2 separate regions of the Homo sapiens genome follow, and region 1 is linked to region 2. The links are contacts of gene promoters, found by promoter capture Hi-C in blood cells and fetal thymus (Javierre and others, 2016). All regions are on one chromosome and are shown on one strand. Each heading gives the region's core, a stretch centred on a gene start or on the middle of the fragment in contact. The rest is flanking DNA. Distances are from core to core; before and after follow the strand shown. Region 1 overlaps PRPS2 (phosphoribosyl pyrophosphate synthetase 2). Region 2 holds the start of FANCB (FA complementation group B).

The links. Contacts are between HindIII fragments. The CHiCAGO score rates a contact against its expected background, and 5 or more counts as called.
Region 1: a fragment that was not itself captured here is called in contact with the fragment with the promoter of FANCB in region 2 in 1 of 17 cell types (non-activated CD4 T cells); the score reaches 11.7 in non-activated CD4 T cells.

What each region holds. Positions count from the first base shown.
Region 1 is chrX:12,791,523-12,795,350 of GRCh38, forward strand. PRPS2 (phosphoribosyl pyrophosphate synthetase 2) reads left to right here. Exons shown (of 7, transcript NM_002765.5): 1 at 1-97. Among named protein-coding and RNA genes, the nearest start is that of PRPS2, 2.0 kb to the left of the region's middle. RefSeq lists a silencer at 146-595. The HindIII fragment of the contact is 1,938 bases long and covers 700-2,637 here.
Region 2 is chrX:14,871,546-14,875,310 of GRCh38, forward strand. FANCB (FA complementation group B) reads right to left here and starts at 1,524. Exons shown (of 10, transcript NM_001018113.3): 1 at 1,441-1,524. MOSPD2 (motile sperm domain containing 2) reads left to right here and starts at 1,876. Exons shown (of 15, transcript NM_152581.4): 1 at 1,876-1,992; 2 at 2,144-2,213. The coding sequence starts at 1,984. RefSeq lists a silencer at 1,614-1,843. The HindIII fragment of the contact is 4,870 bases long and covers 1-3,119 here.

The DNA of each region.
Region 1 (3,828 bases), core at 419-2,918, 2.1 Mb before region 2:
GCAGCTCGCATCAGGACCTGTCCCAGCGCGTGGCCGACCGCCTGGGCCTGGAGCTGGGCAAGGTGGTCACGAAGAAGTTCAGCAACCAGGAGACCAGGTGGGGGCCGCGCCGGCGGCCGGGCTAGGGAGAGCGCTGGGCACGCGGCTGCGGGGCCGGGTTGGGGGCCGGCGCCTGCCCGGGCCACCTCCGCGGACGCCGCGCTCCCCCTTCCGGGGCGGGACGGTGGCAACGCGGCCTCCGCGCCCCCGCGCCCGCGCCTGCGAAGAAACCGAGGCGGGGCGCCGCGCGTCCCGATGCGCGCCTCGGCTGTGCCCCCGGTTGCAGGGCCTCCGGTCCTGGGACCGCGGCGACCCGGCGGTCCCGAGCCGCTCCCGGCCTCCCAGCGGTGCCGCCCGGCCTGGCGTCCCCAGCCCGGAAGGGAGACGTCTGGGCGGTCACAGACCGTCGGGGAGAGAGTGGGCGCAGCGGGCGGGAACCGCATCGGGTCAGCGCGCGGTGGAGAGACGTCCTGGGTTGGCTGGTCCCAGTTTCCGCGTCCCTACAAAGCTGAACCTCAGACCAGTGCGTGCGACTAAAGGTTTCCCCCCGTCCCCAACTCTGGTTGCACGCTGGGTTTACCTGGGGACGGTCCGAACGCTGCTTCCCCCGACCTGCCCCCAAGGGTTTGATCCAACGGGCGGAGGATCAGCGATTTTACAAGCTTCCCTGGCTTCTCCTGAGCAGCCAGGGCGCAGACCACTGCGTTATCCAGAGGGTGCAGTTGTGCCAAGGTTTGAAAGACTGTGAGAACCCCAGGACGCACGTGCTGGGCTCCCCTCTGCTCCCACTACTCTTGCTGCTTTAAAGATGATGGACTTTCAGCTTCCTTCTTGTTCTAGGACTCTGCTGTGTCCAGCAACAACGCCGTGATTCGACTGTAACTTTCACCCATTTCTCAAGTCCAGGAGAGCCTCAGGTGGTGGCCATCCTCGGAAGCTGACCTGGGGGGCTCCTTTGTCTATCTGCCTGAGTCCACACAGCTCCTTGACTCATTTCAAATTGGTCTCATTTTTCCCCCTTCTTCCTCCAATGTCTAGTACCGTTAACTGTCCACAGTTACTGATAATTTTTATATCTTTGGCAAAGGTTCAATTTTACCAACATTTTCTAGAAATGGTGTTGGAACAGTTGGACACCCATATGCCAAAAAATATGAACTTCCATCCATACTTTTCACCATTTGTAAAAATTAACTTTGAAGTGGATCATAGACCTAATTGTAAAATCTAGAACTATAAAATTTCTAGCAGAAAATCTTGACTTGGGGTTAGGCAAAAATTTCTTAAGGAGGAGTTATGTTAATACTGATGGGGAAGATGCTATATTTTGGCAAGTCAGCTTTTTAGGATATGTGAATCTTACGTGACTTCTTCCAGGTGGCAAATTCCAGTTATGGCTCCGATGATAATATAAGCGAAGAAACATTGTGAATGAGTGGCAGGTGGACTTTGGCTAAAGAATTCCACTCTGCAGTGTTTAATGCAGAAGTCTGAGAGGATGGTCTAGGGCTCTGGAGAAGGATAGAGCTAGGTTTGAGTGTTGCAGTATTTTGCCAGTCTTGTTCAAGTTTCAGTCGCTGTAAGAACACGAGAAGAAGAATAGTTTTTGTTCAGAAGGTGTCGTCATATAAGTAAAGGAGAAATTTGTTGATGAAGTAAATTTTGAAAGCAAATATGTTGCCCTTCCAGGTACTCAGTGCAGCATGATCTTTTGCTAAGGAGCATGGTTAATCTAGATCAGTTCACTGCTAAGTCAGTGTTGAGTTTCTCCTAAAAATACCACATGTGCCACTGGGCAAAACTCACTCAGACACTGAAGTATGATTGTTTATACATTTGGTTCAAATATAAAGCAGACTCACTTTTATTTTGTTTTTGGCATTTTATAACCATCACTTGATAATTAGAAATCGTGGGACCTCAAAAACCACTCAGCATGAAGTTTGGGAATTGCCTATATAGCTACATTTTATGTTTTTAATGTATAGAGTATAAAAGGTTCACTGCCTGACTTTTCTCTTTTCCATGAACTGTACAAGTACAGAGCTTAATTTTTATAAACAGCCCTCTCTGGACCAGTTACTGTGCTAGGAATCCAGCTTTTAGCTGTGTAATCGTAGAGAGGAAAAACTGAAGGGCAAAATGAAGACAAAATTGATTCAGTTCATGTAAGGGCCCCTTCTTGAATCTGTCACTGAACTAGGATCAGAAATCTGGTTTGCTGTCTCCTGGCCATCAATCCTCCCATTTTGCGTTTTTTATATGCTACTTTACTGAACATAGAGCCTTCCAATTTTACCTTCTTATCCCTAAATCATTTCAGATATGCAGGGAGAGGTCCGCTCCAGCTTCACTATAGACCATGGAAATTCCATGATGACATCTTAGGACAGCAGGTGTCTAGATGTCTCTGTTGTAACATTTTACTATGGTCAGTTAACCTGCTGGCAGAATCTTTAGCTATACTGTGAGACAAGGTTATGCAAAGTTATACAAGGTTATCGGTTACCATGTAATAAATAAAGAGCTTAATGGCTTAAAACAGTAATTGTTGATTTGGCTTACAAATCTGCAATTTGGGAAGGGCTCAGTGAAGAAAGCTTGTTTTTGCCGCGTATGGTCACAGCTGAGGCTGGTCACAGCTGAGGCGGCTAACTGGGGCTGGAGGGTTCTTGAAGATGGCTCACATGACTGAAGTTGTTACTAGCTTTTGCCTGGGAGCTTGGTTAGGAACCTCAGCTCCTCTTCTTGTAGGCCTCTCCATGGGGCTGCTTGAGCTTCCTTACAGCATGGAAGCTGGGTTCTAAGAGCACATGTTCCAAAAGACAGGACATTGAAGCCACCAGTCCATTAAGGACTGGGCTTGCAAGTTGGTGTATCATAATTTCTGTCATATGCTGTTGGGCAAGTACAGAGCCCTCTCAGATTCAAGGGCGGGAGACTAGACCCTGCTCCTTGATGGGAAATGTGTTAAGAGTCTGTGGCTATCTTTTAGTTACCATGCCCGTTTATTGTTGAGTCAGTGACGCTCTTCAGCGTTTTTATTTGGGGGTCAATAAAGATCCTCTGGCAGAATGGCAAATGGATGCTGCCTTCTAGCCACAATTTTTTAAAGACCTAGAATAAAGGTAGTCATGATCATCTTTTTGAGTAGAAGCAGGACTAGCTTTAGGGGAAAAGTTGCCATGGTGATGATATTCTCTGTCCTCCCCTGGACTGCTAGTCATATGAGAACTGAGGTTCCTGAGTAAAAACAGGCCAAAGAATCTAATCTTGTGGGATAAACGTCATAAGACCAGGAGTTGGCAAAGTTTTTCTGCAAAGGGCCAAATCGTAAATATTTTAGGCAGTGCTAGCACATGTAGTCTCTGTTGCTGCGGTATCTTACAGTTCTGTAAGTTACGGTAATGTCTGTCACAGGTTAGCAGGGCTGTATTCTCTTCTGAGGCTCTAGGGGAGAATCTGTTCCCGTGCCTTTTCCGGTTTCCAGAGGCAGCCCACATTCCTTCACTATTGGCCTCTTCACCTTCAATGTCAGCAACAAAATGTTGCTCTGACCCTGCTTCTGCTGTCTCCCTCTTGCATTTTTAAGGGCCCCATGATTACAATGGGCCAATTTAAATAATCCAGGATAATTTCCCCATGTTAAGGTCAGCTGATGAGCAACCTGAATGCTATCTGCAAATTTACTTCCCCTTTGCCATATAAACTCACATATTCAAAGGATTAGGATGTAGACATCTTTAGGGGGCCATTATTCTGCCTACCACGCCATTCTTAACTCACAGG
Region 2 (3,765 bases), core at 274-2,773:
CACCAATAGGGGAATGAGTATAGATGGACTATCAAACAAGAGTTAAAAGGAATGAATTAGATCTATCTATCTATATATGTGTGTGTGTGTGTGTGTATATATATATATAATCATGGTTAAATTTCAAAAATAAAATGAATTAAAAATTAAGTTGCAGACAAATGTACACTGCAGCATATTATTTATGTAAAACAAATAAAACAGCATTATATATGTTCTATTTACCTACAATGACTACAGTCCCTGAGTGCTTTCTCAAGAAATAGTGCCATGTACTATTTTTTTTTTTTTTCCTGAAGAAACAGTGCCAGGTACTGCTCTAAGCACTTTGGATTAACTCGTTTCTTCCTCACAACATCCTTATGACATAGGCACTGTTACTATCCCATTTTATAGATGGAGAAACTGAGGCAAGGAGTTTCAGGATCTTCTCAAAGGCTTGCAGATAAGAAGTGACAGAGCCAGGATTCAAACCCAGGCAGTATGATCCAAAATAAAAAAATGTAAAACTGTAAACATTTCATGCCAAATTCTGAATGCTGTTGATTCTGGACAAGGAAGTGTCCAGGATAGGTGAGTAGAGGTAGAAGGAGACTTTAGTTATATCTGAAATATCTTTTAAGGATGTAGTCAAACAACGTTTAAACAATGTGTTCATTTTTTCCCATAAAAAATGTAAATATATTTAAAAGTCTAGGACAAAAGATGCTAACATGCCATTCTGTCATGGATGACTACGGTTGATGGAAATATGGGGGACTATTCTTACAACTTGTTTGTAGTTTTCAGTATCTTTCAACTTTAAAAAAGGCAATATTGTATGCGCAACTATTTTCTTTCAATTGTTTTTAACTGACGAATAAAATTTGTTCCAGTCCCTTTAAATCTAAATCTTTCTCAACCTTGACACTATTGACATTTTGGGCTGGATAACTGTTGTGAATTTTCATGTACACTGGAGGATGTTTGGCAGCTTCCCTGGTCTCTATCCACTAGTAGCCAGTGAGCATCTCTTTTGCCCCCGGCCCCTAGCAGTGGTGACTAAAAATGTCTCCAGAGGTTGCCAAAGGTCCCCTGGGTGGTAAAACCGCCCCCCCCACACACACCCCCCCACCCCCCCGGCTGAACACAACTACCTTAATAAGCCGAAACACGCTTTTTTTAACTTTATATAATTATTTGAGATTAAAGATTTCAGAGATATTTTGCTCATTAAGCATCTCACACTCCAAGTTGGAAGGATACTGAAGGGATGAAAAAAACTTCAAGCGAATGTAGCACTTAAAATCCAATTATCATTGCAAGGAATGACAGACCCAGGTCTCGGGATGCCCGCTTCCTTCCCTCTCTCCCGCAATGCGGGGACAAGGGGAGGAAATCCAGCCCCATCGCCCCCTCTGCGAAGTCCTGGGAAGGGAAGACTCGCCAGCCCCATCCTACCTCAACGCAGCGGCAACATACCGGAGGCCCCACGTCGATACGGTATCCATCTGCTCCAAACCTCCCGCCAGCGCGCTGCATCCTGGGAGGCCGGGCGGAGGCTGCGTCGAACGCAGAGGAGGCGGAGCCTAGAAGCCAGCCAGGAGAGGTGGCCAAGGGAGGCTGAGGAGGCGGGGCCCTGGGGAGTGTTGTGAAAGCAGAGAGCCCGCGAGCTCTCTAGGGCGGAGCTCCGCGGGGGAAGCGCCGGCGATCTCGCGGCTGGCGGGGGCGGGACCGCAGTGCGGGGGATGTCGCGGGGCGAGGCCAGACGAGAATCGAATGGGACCTAGGCTGAGGGCCTGGTCCCGCCTCCAGACCCAGGCGTCCGCATTGGATTGGGCGGTGCGGCGGCGCTTCTGTCCGCCTTCCGGTGTCACGCGACCGCCTCCCCCTCCCACCCTTCTCTGTCTACCTCTGGGCGGGACTGCCGGGTGATGAGATACTCGGTCGGCGACGGTAGAACGGGCGACGGCGACAACCGCAATCACATCCACGACGGTGATCATGGCAGAGGTGAGGAGCCTATTGCACCGCCGCTGGCCCCCCGGACCCGGAAGCCGCCTCTGAGGCCCGGGGACCGAGCGCCCGTGTGCAGGTGGGCTGGGTTGAGGGTAAGCGGGTTGATGCAAGTAGTATCTAAGGTCCCATCGTGTCTCCCATCCAGAATCACGCCCAGAATAAAGCCAAGCTCATCTCTGAGACCCGGAGGAGGTTCGAAGCTGAGTATGTGACAGGTGGGTACTCTGTTCCAGGTATTAAGAAAGGTGTGCAGTGAGCATCCCCAACTTTGCTGGAGTGTTTGTGAGTGTATTTGTGGGAGGTGTTAGGGACCCTTTCGACCCTCACAGGAATGATGCTGGGCACGTCTCAAAGGTTTTCCTCTCCATGACAAGCCGTGTGCACTGCTTCAAATGGTCAAGTGGTGTGTCCCATGCTCCCTTTAAAGGGTTAATGTAAGTTGGAAATCGGTTAAGTTTTTAGCATGCCCTCGTGTTTATGGAACTTGCAGGATACTTGTTAGGCCCACAACACGGGTGACATTGTCCAGTCCACGGTTCCACTGCTGGCCTTTCACCAGCAACACTAGCGAAAATGTACCTGGAAACTGCCATAATACTATTGATGTGTACTTAATTGGGTATACAAATTCCTTGGATATTTTGTTTGATTTGGCTTTCATACAACCCAGCATGCTACCCACAAAATAGGCCCTCCAATGCTGGAACAAGTTCTTATCCCAAACTGTATCTTGCAAAGTACCTATGAGTCCAGAATTGATTTATTGGTTGAACATTCTGTGTCCAGATGTCACAGATACTTGAGTTGTCAGGTACTTAACTGAATATTTAATGCTTGTACAGTAATTTTGTAAAACATACGGAATAACTTATTGTAAATATGGAATTAAATAAGGATTTATATGTTGCCTACCTTAAGATTGATTGTAATCCTAACCCTGCCACTACATAGCTTACTTGTCTATTCTGAGCCCGTTTTCATATCTGTGAAGTGCAAATAATAAAGTTAGTAGGATTAAATTTTTTAAAAAAACATAAACCATCTAGCATGTCTTAAAATATAGTGGATTCTCAGTGAATATTTTGCCTCAGTTGTCATTTTGGTTACTGTGAAAGGAGTTAAGCTTCTACATCTTGACTAGTACTCAGCAGAGGTTCCCTGCAACTTTAAACCATCCTAGATTATACATCAGTTGATGACATAGAACAAATATGGAAATCGGTTTCAAATACTTGTCAGTAAATCTTTTCATACCTCCTTGCCAATTTTCTTCACACCCCAAACTTTGTTCCAGAGAGTTGCAAAAGCACTTGATTCACTTTTCACCCAGAGTTCCCATTTCTAATAATATAGCTGGTTCCAATAAAGAGATCCTTCTTCAATTGCTTTCTACAGAAATGTAACTATTATAGCTGTTAATACATGGTTTATAATATTTTAAGAAGTAACTCAGAATTCGACCTAATGAGCTAGTAACACCCCAATAGTCATTTATTTATGCCCAAGGGAGGAAGCAGAATACAGGCAGAAATTAGGCAATAAACAAGATCTTAAAGGTCATCTTGGGGCAACCTCCTCATTTTTAAAATGAAGAAAGTGAGGTCTAGAGAGATTAAGAGATTTGCTCAAAATCCCTGATGTTATTGGCTAGGCCAGGACTAGTGCTCATGTCTTCTGATTTTCACTACAGTAATCTTTTGGCAATACCATGATGTCAAGTTAGATCATGTCACTCTCCAGCTTGAAACCCTTCAGTGCCTTTCCAAC